Regions from separate parts of the Homo sapiens genome. Here regions 2 and 3 are each linked to region 1. Evidence: promoter capture Hi-C in 16 types of primary human blood cells and fetal thymus (Javierre and others, 2016). All regions are on one chromosome and are shown on one strand. Each heading gives the region's core, a stretch centred on a gene start or on the middle of the fragment in contact. The rest is flanking DNA. Distances are from core to core; before and after follow the strand shown. Region 1 holds the start of ZNF470 (zinc finger protein 470). Region 2 holds the start of ZNF551 (zinc finger protein 551). Region 3 overlaps ZIK1 (zinc finger protein interacting with K protein 1).

Region 1 (4,454 bases), core at 1,955-4,454:
AGCAAACAAGAATGATAAAGCCCCTATTATAATTATTCTGAATGACATAAAGGAAAATGCTATTAATGGATGAGCAGATGGGAATTTCAGCAAATGAGTAAATCAGTTTGAAAATGGGAATTCTAAAACTAAGAAATACAATGTTTGAAAGTAAAAATCCACTGGATAGGTTTAACAGGAAATTTGAGGTGGCAGAATAGTTAATGAAGTTGAATATAGATAGAAATTATTTAATCTGAAACAAAAAGGATTGAAAGAAATTAAAAGGACTGAATAGTGCTGGTGATAATGTCAAAAGGTGACTTGTGATAATGCTTTGTGTTCTCTGATCTTCCTAGATCTGTGGTTTGGTGTTTGTTTTCTTGCTTTTAGAGACAAGGTCTTGCTTTGTTGCCCAGGAGGGAGTGCAGTGGCAGGATAATGGCTTGCTCAAGCAATCCTCCCACCTCAGCTTCTCGAGTAGTTGGGACTACAATTACACAGCACCACACCCGGCTAATTTTTGTATTTTTTTAAAGATGGGGTCTCACTATGTTGCCCAGGCTGGTCTCAATCTCCTGGGCTCAAGCAATCCTCCCACTTTGGCCCCCCAAAGTGCTGGTATGTATCACAGGCATGAGCCACCACACTGGCCTGGTGTCCTGTCATTAATTTTAGAAAATTCTCAGTCATTATTCAAATATTTTCTCTCCTTTCTCTCTTCCCCTCCTGGTATTCCAGTTACGCATATATTTCACCTTCTGTAATTGTCCCATGGTTCTTGGATATTCTGTTCTTTTTCTTTTTTCATTCTTTTTTTTTCCTCTTTGTATTTCAGTTTGGGAAATTTCTATTAACATATCTTCAAGCTCACCCATTCATTTCTCAGAGTGTCTTAGTCTGAGGGGCTCACTAAAGGTAATCTTCATGTCTGTTACAATGGTTTTCAATTGCTAGGATTTCCTTTTGATTCCTTCTTACAGTTTGCATCTCTCTGCTTACATTACCCATCTGTTCTTGCATGTTGTCTACTTTTTCCAAGATGCTTCTCCTTCTGTGGGCTTCCCTAAGAACTCCTTCTTAAATAGAGTCTGTGCCTTGCAGTTTTCTCTGTTGTAATCTACTGTTATTGACCAGAGCCCCATTAGTGTGGCAGTGAGGTACAGTGGGGAGGGAAGCATTCTATAATCTTATTATTAAATACTATTTTTCTAGTGGGCTTGAGGCCTTGGACTGTGATCTTCAGAAGCACTTCTTAGCCTTTCAAAAATCCTGCCTTACTGAGACAGACAGGCTATAGAGGGACTGGAGCTGGCCAATTGCCTCTCCCCAAGGTCCAACAAGACTCTAGTAAGTAGTTTTTCTTGGAGTGCAGGTGTTTATTATGGAAAATGTGGTGCTTACTTTTCTCCTCCCCTTGCCCAAAAACCTGAGATTTTTCCCCATTCTTCACTGAGAGAATTTGATAGGGTTTCTGGAGGTAAAATTCACGAAAGTGTGGGGGCCCATCTAAGATTGGGCCCCTAGGAGTTTTTAACTCACAAGTTAGCCCACACTAAGCCTCCAGCAATTCATCAAAATTATAAAAAATAAAAGTTTTTACCAGTTTATAACTCCAGTGGCTTCTGCTTCAAGTAAGCTAATCTTGGCTGTAATTTTATGTATTTTTCTTTCTCGGGATTTTGGGGTGTCAGTTACCTTTCTATCTTCAGTTCTCTGATGGATCTAAGAAAAGTTGATTTTCAGTTTGTTGAATGATTTTGTTGTTGTGAAGATGGGAATGAAGGCTTCCGAGCTCTTTATATGCCAGAGCTAAAATGAGAATATTATCATTTTCATCCAACTCAAATAACCACAAACGTTACAAGCTCTAAGATGATATTTGCTGTTTCATAGTTAAAGTATCTTCACAGCTAGACTTGGCTTTATTATGTTGTTTATGATGTCTGACATAAATTGGATCCAGGAGAGTCCAGTCTAGATGTCACTGTGTGGCCTTGGGTGATTGAGTGTGACTGGGAGGGTGAGTTAGTTTCTGGTGAGCCAGTATCTATGATGCTGTATCTTGGTCAGCTGGGGCTGCTATAACAAAATATCATAGACTAAGTGACTTGACTAAGAGACTTTATTTTTCACAATTCTGGAGGCTGGGAAGTTAAAGTGCTGGCACATTCAGTTCTTGGTGAGGGCCCCGTTGGCTTGCAAATGGGTTACATCCTGCTGTGTCCTCACATGGCCTTTGCTTGGTGGTTGTGTAAACATGGAGACCCCTCCTTCCTCTTTTTTAATAAGTGCACTGACCCCATCATAAGGGTATCACCCTTATGACCTAATCTAAAACCAGTTACCTCCCCAAAGTCCCACCTCCTAACGTCATCACACTAGGGGTTAGGGTTTCACCATAGTAATTTTGGGAGGACATATTCAGCCTATAACATGTTGTGTCATGGTGAGACTGGCAATGCTAGATTTCGTGATTTCCTAAAAAATAAAATAAAAATAAAAAACTAAGCACCTACTATGTGCTGTTTTAGTCACTGAGAATATAACCCTGAACAGGACGGAAGCTGTGTGCCTTCTTGGAACCCTCCTTCCAGCAGGGAGAGATAAAATGGGGTGGGGGGAGGTGAGGGGCGTACCGTATATCAGAGAGCAGTAACTAGTAGGCATGAAATAAAACAGGTTCCACACGCGCACCATCAGAAAGTCACAAGTGTGCAAAGCAGACAAATCCCAATCTCCTCACTTTTCTATCGCGTAGGCCCCGCCCGCGCCCCAAGCCCCGCCCTGTCATGGTTTTCCTCTCCAGAGGGTAGCCGCTACGCCTTACCGACTGCGTTTCAGTGCTGTCCCACTGCTCCTGCACACCCCACGCCTGCGACCCTACCCACCACGGACAGGCGCTCCTGCGAGCTGGAAGCCAGTTCTCTGCGTCCTGAGCCTGGCAGCTGCATCTGAACACTCGGAGCCTGGCGATGGCTTCCAGAAACCCCTGCGCCGTGGGTCGCTTCAGTGAAGGGGCCTGTACTTCGGCGACCCAGACTCCGGGCTGAGAGGCCTCCTAATCCAACCAGGAGGACCAGGAGAGGCCCAAAAGGGGACACAGGGCAGTGACCGCCAGGCTTGGAGAGGAGCCGCTCCTGGCAAAGCCAGCGCCCTATTTCTGAACGCCGCCTCCGTTCCGGACTACACTTCCCAGGGGCTATTGCAGCGGAGGACACGCCCACTTCCGGAAAGGACCCAAAGCCGGGCGAGTGCACGTCCCGCCGGTTGCTGAGGAGAAGGGAGGTCTGGGCGGGGCAGCGGCCGAGGCTGGACTGGGGCGCGGCGGGGGCGGTGTCCTGGTTCCTGTGTGGGCGGCGGGCGTGAGCGTGCGCGTGTGGCCTGGTGGCTGTGAGTGCCCATACGTGGTGAGCGTGCGGTGCTGTGCTGAGGAGGGGCGAGCGCGCGCGGGGATGGCGGCCCGGTGTGTGACTGTCCGGTGCGTGGCCGCGAATCTGCGCCTGCGTGCATGGCCCGGCGGCGTGCGGAAGGCGGTGTGTGTTGGAATGAGTGAAGCACTTTAAGTGGCCAAGAGCAGGAAACCCGGCCGGAGGAGGCTTACCCCGTTCTCCCCTGTATCGACTGCGTAGAGCCCAGTGTGGGCAAAGTCCTAGAGCCCGGGGAAGTTGCCCGGGCGGGGCAGCCTCGGCTGAAGCATTTCCTGTCAGCCCTATCTGGAAGGGGCAGAGCCCAGGACAGGGCTCCATGTCCACAGGACGGCGAGGAGCGAAGACCATGGGGACTGAGTACACAGGTAAGAGTGACAGATGACGGATGTGGCTGCCGGAGTGGACATTGAGGTTTTGGGTGCTGTCTTTCGGGGTTCAGGTGCTGGAGGAGGATGTCCCCCGTTTCTAAGGCTAGTGGACCTGGAAGTCGAAAGATTTGGAGGGTCACCTTGGGTCAGAGTGGAGCTGGGTTTAGTTAGGGAGGGACCTTGACTTGGCCAGAGACACCTAACCAGATAACCTGACTCAGGTCCTTGGTATATCACTAAGGGCCCATGGGAGAGAACACTACCCGTAATATTACCCATTATAGCATTACTTCTGGGTACTCTGCTGCTGTTGAAGGAATAGCTCAGCATTTAGATTTTTACCCGTCAGAGCCTTGTCCCATCTATCACTGTAGGATTTGGGAAGAAGGCGAGATTCACAGCTTCACCCAGAAATGCCGAGGCATTCCAGCCTTTCTATGGCTTAATCACGTTCTAGTCAATAACGGAAGATATCCCCATTCCTTGGGCTTCTCTCCCTCCCCTCTGGCCTCCCACTCCAATAAAGAGAAAGGGGGAGGAAGGGCTATTTTTAGCCATATTGTTCTGTGCTTGTTTAGTTTCCTGCATGCTATAGTAATAGCTAATGTTTAATGAGTGTTTATTATGTGCCAGACACAGTTCTAAGACCTTTTGGGAGTATCAGCACCAAACTTCA
Region 2 (4,454 bases), core at 981-3,480, 1.1 Mb after region 1:
TCCAGTAGTTATTTGAAGGTCGAATTAGATTAAAGATGTTTAGGCTGGGCACAGTGTCTCATGCCTGTAATCCCAGCACTTTGTCAGGCTGAGGCGGGCAGATCACTTGAGTCCAGGAGTTTGAGACCAGCCTGAGCACCAAGGCAAAACCTCATCTGTACAAAAAATACAAAAAAACAATTAGCTAGGTTTGGCGACATGCGCCTGTAATCCCAGCTATTTGGGAGGCTGAGATGAGAGGATCACTTGAACCTGGGAGGCAGAGGTTGCAGTGAGCTGAGAACAGACCACCGCACTCCAGCCTGGGTGACAGGCTCAAAAAAATTTTAAAAAGATGTTTATTGTAACTTCTAAGGGAGGAATTAATATTTTTTTTTTTTTTTGCTGGCAACTTTGATTAATTTAAACATACAAAAATTAGCTGGGCATGGTGGTGTATGCTTGTAACCCCAGCTACTCAGGAGGCTGAGGCAGGAGAATCGCTTGAACCCGGGAGGCAGAGGTTGCAGTGAGCTGAGATCGCGCCACTGCACTCCACCCTGGGAGACAGAGCAAGACACTGTCTCAAGAACAAAAACAAAAAAGCCCAGGCGCAGTGGCTCACCTGAGGTCAGGAGTTCAAGACCAGCCTGGCCAACATGGTAAAACCCTCGCTCTACTGAAAATACAGAAATTAGCCGGGCATGGTGCTGGCGCCTGTAGTGCCAGCCACTTGGGAGGCTGAGGCAGAAGAATTGCTTGAACCTGGGAGGTGGAACTTGTGGTGAGCCAAGATCAAGCCATTGCACTCTAGCCTGGGCAACAGAGTGAGACTCCGTCTGGGAAAAAAAAAAAAAAAAAGAACTGATAAACAAATTCACCTGTGTAGCTGAATTCAAAGTCAACATGCAAAAGTCAACATGTAAAACTCATATGCCCTTCCATACACTAACAATGAAAAATCTGAAAAGGAAATTAAGAAAACAATATCATTTGCAATAGTAATGTATATGGTCAAATGATCTCAACAAGGCTACCAAGACCACTCAATGGGGAAACGATGATCTTTTCAGCAAATGATGCTGGGAAAATGAAATATTCACATGCTAAGGAATGAAGGTGAACCCTTACCTAACACCAAAAACACAAATGAACTCAAAATGGACTAAAAACCTAAACATAAGACCCAAAACTATAAAACACTTAAAAGAAAATATAGGGTGAAAGTTTTATGACATTGAATTTGGCCATAATTTCTTGGATTTGACACCAAATACACATGTGACAAAAGAAAAATAGACCAATTAGACTTCATGAAAATTAAAACTTTAGTATATCAAACAATAACAAAGTGAAAGAGGAACCTATTTAATGAGAACAAAATACAGGTTGAATATCCCTGAGCCAAAAATCTAAAATCCAAAATGCTCCAAAATCCAAATTTTTTTTTTCTTTTTTTTTTTTTGGAGACGGAGTCTCCCCCTGTCGCCCAGGCTGGAGTGCAATGGCGTGATCTCGACTCACTGCAACCTCTGCCTCCCAGGTTCAAACGATTCTCCTGCCTCAGCCTCCCAAGTACTGGGATTACAGGCGCTCGCCACCATGCCCGGCTAATTTTTGTATTTTTAGTAGAGACAGGGTTTCACCATGTTGGCCAGGCTGGTCTCGAACTCCTGATCGCGTGATCCACCCACCTTGGCCTCCCAAAGTGCTGGGATTACAGGCGTGAACCACTGCGCCCGGCCCGCCCGACTAATTTTTGTATTTTTAGTAGAGATGGGGTTCCGCCATGTTGGCCAGCCTGGTCTCGAACTTCTGACCTCAGGTGATCCGCCCGCCTCGGCCTTCTAAAGTGCTGGGATTACAGGCGTGAGCCACCGCGCCCAACCCCCTGAAATAATATTTGTTTGCCTCTAGGGGCACCCTGAGCTTCGTGGAGTCTGAAATAATGTCTCTAAACACTTAAGTGATCAGTTACGGAAAACACTTCCCAGAAATCTGGGAAAAGCCCCTTTAAGAAGGAGTAAATACCTCCTTCTCCCCTAGAGGCCGAAGTCGCCATTTCCCTGCACGGGGCACAGCACCTCAGAATACAAGTTCGCAGAGGTCAAAGCAGTGGACACACTCCGAAGAGCTCCGTGGAGTTTTGGAAACTACATTATCCAGAGTGCAGAGCGCAAAACGGCGGCGGAGTTGAGCCAATGACAGCCCAGGATAGCAACACTTCCGCGCACGCGCAGCGCGACGGGCCGGAACTTCCGGCGTCCTCCTCGTGGCGGTCATTTTGGCCTCTGTCCTGTTTGTCCAGCCCGCCAGTTTCTGCAGTGGAGGTCGCGACTGAGGGACGGGACAGAGAAGTCGCGAAAGTGGGCCAGAGGTTCTGCGACACCACCTCGGGTGAGCTGCGCCAGGCCCGGGATAGGGACTGTTGTGTTCGAATGCCCGCCCCGGTCGGCCGCCGCTCCCCGCCTAGTCCACGGAGCTCAATGGCGGCAGTCGCGCTGAGGGACTCGGCTCAGGTGAGTTGTGCGTCCTCCGGGTCTCGCCTACCTCCCCCAGCAGAAGCCTTAAGGCCCAGTGAGGGATGCCTGCTCACAGCCCTGCAGCCCAGGCCCCAGTACCCTGGACAAGAAGGCGCTTGTGGATTGGACCCGTTTGTGACGCCCAGTGTGTACGGAAATGTGACGGGCAGTTGACTGGCGCGTGCAGAACTTGGAGCTGCGACTAAGCTGGGGGGGATTCAGGAGCCTGGGGTCCGTCTCGGGTCTGCAGGAACATAGAGTGAGGCAGAGTTGCACCTGACGAATTTGACGATTCTGAGGACACTGGCAGCCTTCGAGATTTGTGAACAGATAGGGACACTGGGCTAGGATTTCCTAAAGCTATCCAAAAGTTGCTCAGGGGAAGAACAGGCTGAAGAGAGGTAATAGTAGTTAGGCATAGGAAGACTGAGTTCTTGTCCAAGCTCACGCAGCTGGTAAAGTCAGCACTGAGAACTGAGGTGCGGAGATAGTGCAGCCAGCCCAGGCCACCTGGCTCCAAAACTGGACCAGGGTCATTGGGCGACCTGAGCCTCGCCACTCGTCTAGCCTTGGGCCCTGAGACTTTGAGCAAATACAAAGCCCAGAGTCTTAAGTCCAGGTTAGATTATATGAAGCTGTTGGCAGCCGGGGGAAAGGAGATGTAGAAGGTTGTCCAAGGCAAAGTTACCAGTATATGCTAAGTTTGGAGAGGAGGCTAAGATAGTTCAGGAACCTACAATTATTTTCTTTTCATGAGAACAGGGAGCAGTGTAGTAGAAGTCAGACCCGGAATGGTTCCCTGAGAAGTTGAGTTGTCTATTCGTTACTTAATAGTAACAGTGGGAGGTTTGGAGTGGAAGAGGGAGGTGATCTGGTTCTGGTCTTATTAGGCTCCCTGTGGCTGCAGCATGGGAAGCCAACTGAAGGATGAGGTGGGGAGACCTGGGAGGAGACTACTGGGATAGGCCAGGTGAATGTGATAGAATGTGATAGGCCAAAATGGTGGCTGTGAAGATGCGAGAAGCAGTTGGATTCTGGATTCATTTTTTAAGTAGGGCTGCCTGAATTTTTAGTTTTGAGAAAGAGAGTGGAGTCAGGGATGACTGAAAGGTTTTATTTTGGCAGTTAGAAGTGTGGAAGCTCCATCAACTAAGATGGGGAAGTACATAGTAGGAGTAGTTTTCATTTGGGATATCAGAAGTTTTATTTTTGACCTGCTAAGAGTATGAGAGCTTTCAGAGAATGGTTCATGGGCTGCTGGAACTGTAGGTCAGGAACAGTGAGGAGAGATTCAGAATGGAGACTTTTCCAAAAGGTAGTGGACAATCTGTGGGCCGGGGTGGAGCTGTGGATCACATTTAGTAGAGGGGAAGCCTGCTCACAATGATAATAATAGTTGTCAAGGAAGGGGAGGGGAAGGTCAAGGACAGGTCTCCTGTGTGAGCCCCTGGTTGTGTGAGGTGTTGCAACACAGGTCTTGGACAGAAGTGTTCACGGTGAGGGTCGTACAGAGATTATGATCTAGCATGTGGCCAAGGCTTCTCAGGGGTGAGTAGACATGAGATGAATGTAGAGGCATAGGAGTTAGACAGGATGATGCTAGGACTGGTGCGTATTCACCTCTCTGCAGACTGACCAGGGTTTTATATTAACTCTTGGTGGGATCTGGGAAGTTTCAGTCAGGCTGTCACGTTATCTTAGGGGCATAATTGGCCATCTGTGGGACTCGATGGGCCCGGGGTAGAGAGCCACTGGGGTTGGACCTTGAATTAGTGGTAGTTGGAGAGAGGAAGGCTGTGACTGGTTGGGGGACAGCAATCACAGCCCAGAAGTGGAAGAGGCCTTGGTTATCTGAGATCCACAGGTGATTCTTGATGGGTGAGGTTGAAGCAAGGAATAGTCAGGTAGAAAGGCCTTCATGGTATGACTTGAGGCTGCCCCTAACTTTAGGTG
Region 3 (4,454 bases), core at 1,179-3,678, 1.0 Mb after region 1:
GATCCATGACACCTTGTGTCCCAAGTTCCCTGCACCCCCATCTGCTAGCTGACATTTTCTTGTGGCTACCTGTGTCATGATTGTAGTCATTGTCATTGTCTATACTTATGGGGACAATGGGCTCTTCTTACTCACTCCTTCTAGTTTGTTTGTTTGTTTGTTTGTTTAATGATATTAACTTTCTTGCCCATGGGCTGTTGTGTGCTGAGTCGTTCTGCATCAGTGCTGATCACTCACATGTTCTGTCTTTCTGGTAGGACTTGGCTTCATGAAGGTCCCACATAGCTAGACAACTGAGGGTGTGCAGAGAAACCTGGTTGCTTTATAGGGTGAACATGGTCTCAGAGAAGGCCTGGGCTTGTTGAGTGGCAACTGGTTGGGGGCATGATATCCGGGCTGTTTTCCGATCACATAAGGAGCCTGTCCTGTCTTCACCACTGTTTGGGTGCACATGCCACTGGCCAAATCTCATTTCTATATTTTCTTCTCAGTACTTGACACTTCTCTCTCTTATTATTTTTATCTATGACTTCTAGCACCTGGCTACCTCCACCTTTCTGATCTTCATGCATCATCTGCTTCTCTGCACTGCTCCCTCTGCAATGTTTTCCAACATTGACACACACATAATGTCTCATGAAGTATGTATATATGACCACATGAAGATATGTGATCATATCACTTGCTACTCAGTTTCAATTGTATTTTCCTGGGCTTGGGCACAGTCAACCTTCTGCACAGCATGCAGGTGTCACCAGCAGACAAGGTCCTCCTGAAGACTATGTGGTGAGTTTTAGGAATTGGAAGGCTACTCAAGGATAATTTTTGAGGCTGTTGGTAGAGGAATGGTTTGAAGGCAATGCCATTCCCTGTCCTTCATCCCATCCTTGTGTCCTTTATTTGGTGAGGCCTCCCTCATTCTGTGATCTTTAGAGATCCAGTATTGCAAAGCAACCCCTTCCTCAACTTGCCCCCAGCTCCATTATCCTCAAAACAAACCTGGTGAATCATTCGTTTGGTATGTGTGTAATGGGGCTTCTTGCTCTCAGCATAGTCAATGTATATTTCATCAGCGGTTCTCTGCTTTCAGGTTGTGGCCATGGAACAGAGGATGAAGAGACACCTTCTGACCAGAATGTTTCTGTAGGAGTGTCACAGTCAAAGGCAGGTTCATCCACACAGAAGACTCAATCCTGTGAGATGTGTGTCCCAGTCCTGAAAGATATTTTGCATCTAGCTGATCTCCCTGGGCAGAAACCATACTTGGTTGGAGAATGTACAAACCATCACCAGCACCAGAAGCATCACAGTGCAAAGAAATCCTTGAAGAGGGACATGGACAGAGCCTCATATGTGAAGTGCTGCCTATTCTGTATGTCATTGAAGCCCTTTCGCAAATGGGAGGTTGGAAAGGACCTTCCAGCCATGTTGCGGCTTCTGAGGTCCCTGGTCTTTCCTGGAGGCAAGAAACCCGGCACAATTACTGAATGTGGGGAGGACATTCGCAGTCAAAAAAGTCATTACAAGTCAGGTGAATGTGGGAAGGCTTCCAGGCACAAACACACTCCTGTTTACCATCCAAGAGTCTACACTGGAAAAAAGCTTTATGAGTGTAGCAAATGTGGGAAAGCCTTCCGTGGCAAGTACTCACTTGTTCAGCACCAGAGAGTCCATACTGGAGAAAGGCCTTGGGAGTGCAATGAATGTGGAAAATTCTTTAGCCAAACCTCCCACCTGAATGATCATCGGAGAATCCACACCGGAGAAAGGCCTTATGAGTGCAGCGAATGTGGAAAATTATTTAGACAAAACTCCAGCCTTGTTGACCACCAGAAAATACACACTGGAGCAAGGCCTTATGAGTGTAGCCAGTGTGGGAAATCCTTTAGCCAAAAAGCCACCCTTGTTAAACACCAAAGAGTTCACACTGGAGAAAGGCCTTATAAGTGTGGTGAATGTGGGAATTCCTTTAGTCAAAGTGCCATTCTTAATCAACACCGAAGAATTCACACTGGAGCAAAGCCTTATGAGTGTGGCCAGTGTGGGAAATCCTTTAGTCAAAAAGCTACCCTCATTAAACACCAGAGAGTTCACACTGGAGAAAGGCCTTATAAGTGTGGTGACTGTGGGAAATCCTTTAGTCAAAGCTCCATCCTTATTCAACACCGGAGAATTCATACTGGAGCAAGGCCTTATGAGTGTGGCCAGTGTGGAAAGTCCTTTAGCCAAAAGTCTGGTCTCATTCAACACCAAGTGGTTCACACTGGAGAAAGGCCTTATGAGTGCAACAAATGTGGGAATTCCTTTAGCCAATGCTCCAGCCTCATACATCACCAAAAATGTCATAACACATAGAGGCCTCATGAATGCAGCAAATGTGGAAGCGCCTTCAACTCAAGATCTATCATCATTTAGCTCCTGAAAGTCCACACTTAAGTAGAGCCTTAGACCTACAGGGAAAGTGCTGTCTCTGTAGTATTGTAGCAGTAGAGAGCCTTTGTGAGGGAGCCATCTGCCTGAAGTTGAACCTCATTCTTCCTTGTTTCTCTGGTAGAAACCATCTACCCTCTACCACCTTGCACAGTGGGCACTGGTCACTCCTATGTGCTAAGACAAGGCAGACATCTGTGTGTTCTCTTAAGTCTTTGGAGGAAATCTTGAGCAGTCTAAGCCTTTAGAGAAAATTCATTCTTTTTTCTGACTGATCACAGCATACGTGTGACCCAGTTTGGGTCAGGAGGGCCCAGCCTTGGTTCTGCTGGACACTTATGTGCAAGGATTCCCTTCATGTAAATTCTTGGTCTCACATGACACTTGGTCATTCTTCCAGCCTCCATGTCACCACGTGGTGAATGGCTGCCTCACATTGCTCCAGTTTGTGCACTAATAAAAGCCTTATATTTGAATCTACCTGTAGTCTTGGGGTTCTGTTTACTGTGTGGGGTGGCTGGGAGACAGACTTCAACTCTATATGAAGGAATGGATGGCTTTTGTGGGCCTCTGCAGGAAAGTAAGATGACAGAGTAATTCTAATTCTGGTTTTGGTCATACTTGCTTTGCTACCTAAAATCTCCTAGGAAAAAATGCAAGGTTTTGGTTATTCTAATTTGTGGCCTGGATCCCTATTCTTTCTGTGAGACTAGAGGTCATCCTGAGGAGAGGCCAGCTGTTATGACAAGCATGTGTGCTTCAGGGAATAGGACAATTTTATTCCATTGTTTCCAGAGGATGTCATATGATGCCCAGTGCTGCTGAGAAGCTTTTCATGGGGTTCTATAAGGAGGCATGCCCTGATATCAAACATTCCATAGGCCGATGTCACGCAGAAGACAACGCGAGTCACATGTGAACTGTAATTGGTACAGAAATACCTGGGTATTTCTGTACTGTGTGTACTGTAGCAAACTAGTTGGAATGTGCCTCTTATAAAAGTACATTTACAAATCTTCCCGTGACTGTGGCTTTGAGCAGTCATAGGACCTAGAAATCTGTGTATGTCCAATAGCTGAGGTTATTTTCAGCAAAAATAATTAAAGGGTTTTATTTTTTAATTCTTGTTGGTTTTCTAGGTTGTTCACCTCAAGTGCATTGCTGTAGAGGCAGAAAAAGGAGGATAAAGATAACAGAAGTCCTATAGGCCAGGGATGTATTGATAGCTCTTGTGATTTCCACCAGTGTTGCTGTTGTCTCAAATTGCCACAGCCTTCATTGCTTGCCAACATTTCCTGCATGGAGGGACTCATGGTTGCCCTTCCCCAGGCCTGAAGAGAGAGTGCAGTCAACATGAGATTGCTAGGCATTCTGGTTTCTGAAAGTTGGGTGATCAGATACTTTATTGTGAAACATGTTTTACAAACTTTCTTGATGTGTAAGTGACATGCCATAGTTTACATCCATTTATGGTGTATAATTTGAAGAGTTTGTCATACAAGCCTGTGAAACCATAATCATGATCATGAACATATTCATGATTCACCTCTTGCTGTTTTACAATCTCTGCGTGTACTTTCCAGGCCTTCAGGAGTCCTGTCATTTACTTTCCCTACAGGAGAATAGTTTGTGTTTTCTAGGATTTTATGTGAATTGAAACGTAAAATACTTACTCCATTTTTCCTGATGATGCACAATTTTTTTTTTTTTTTTGAGATGGAGTCTCAGTCTGTCACCAGGCTGGAGTGCAGTGGCATGATCTTGGCTCACTCCAACCTCCTCCTGGGTTCCAGCGATTCTCCTGCCTCAGCCTCCTGAGAAGCTAGGACTACAGGCATGCACTACCACGCCCAACTAATTTTTGTATTTTTAGTAGAGATGTGGTTTTACCATGTTTGCCAGGATGGTCTTGATCTCTTGACCTCGTGATCCGCCCGCCTCAGCCTCCCGAAGTGCTGGGATTACAGGCGTAAGCCACCACACCAGCTGATGCACAATTACTTTTAAGATTTATCAATATTGCT

The links. Contacts are between HindIII fragments. The CHiCAGO score rates a contact against its expected background, and 5 or more counts as called.
Region 2: a contact is called between the fragment with the promoter of ZNF551 here and the fragment with the promoter of ZNF470 in region 1, in 1 of 17 cell types (total CD4 T cells). The highest score is 5.3, in total CD4 T cells.
Region 3: a fragment that was not itself captured here is called in contact with the fragment with the promoter of ZNF470 in region 1 in 1 of 17 cell types (monocytes); the score reaches 6.1 in monocytes.

Annotation. Positions count from the first base shown.
Region 1 is chr19:56,564,264-56,568,717 of GRCh38, forward strand. It overlaps ZNF470 (zinc finger protein 470), which reads left to right and starts at 3,205. Exons shown (of 6, transcript NM_001001668.4): 1 at 3,205-3,775. It overlaps ZNF470-DT (ZNF470 divergent transcript), which reads right to left and starts at 3,758. Exons shown (of 2, transcript XM_047439806.1): 1 at 2,810-3,758. The coding sequence starts at 3,758. The coding sequence ends at 2,820. RefSeq lists enhancers at 2,885-2,934, 2,945-3,154, 3,535-3,644. The HindIII fragment of the contact is 7,993 bases long and covers 1-4,454 here.
Region 2 is chr19:57,679,747-57,684,200 of GRCh38, forward strand. ZNF551 (zinc finger protein 551) reads left to right here and starts at 2,231. Exons shown (of 3, transcript NM_138347.5): 1 at 2,231-2,498. The coding sequence starts at 2,418. RefSeq lists an enhancer at 1,923-2,546 and a silencer at 2,602-2,671. The HindIII fragment of the contact is 7,295 bases long and covers 1-4,454 here.
Region 3 is chr19:57,588,921-57,593,374 of GRCh38, forward strand. ZIK1 (zinc finger protein interacting with K protein 1) reads left to right here. Exons shown (of 4, transcript NM_001010879.4): 4 at 1,091-4,454. The coding sequence ends at 2,355. Among named protein-coding and RNA genes, the nearest start is that of ZIK1, 7.0 kb to the left of the region's middle. The HindIII fragment of the contact is 1,657 bases long and covers 1,601-3,257 here.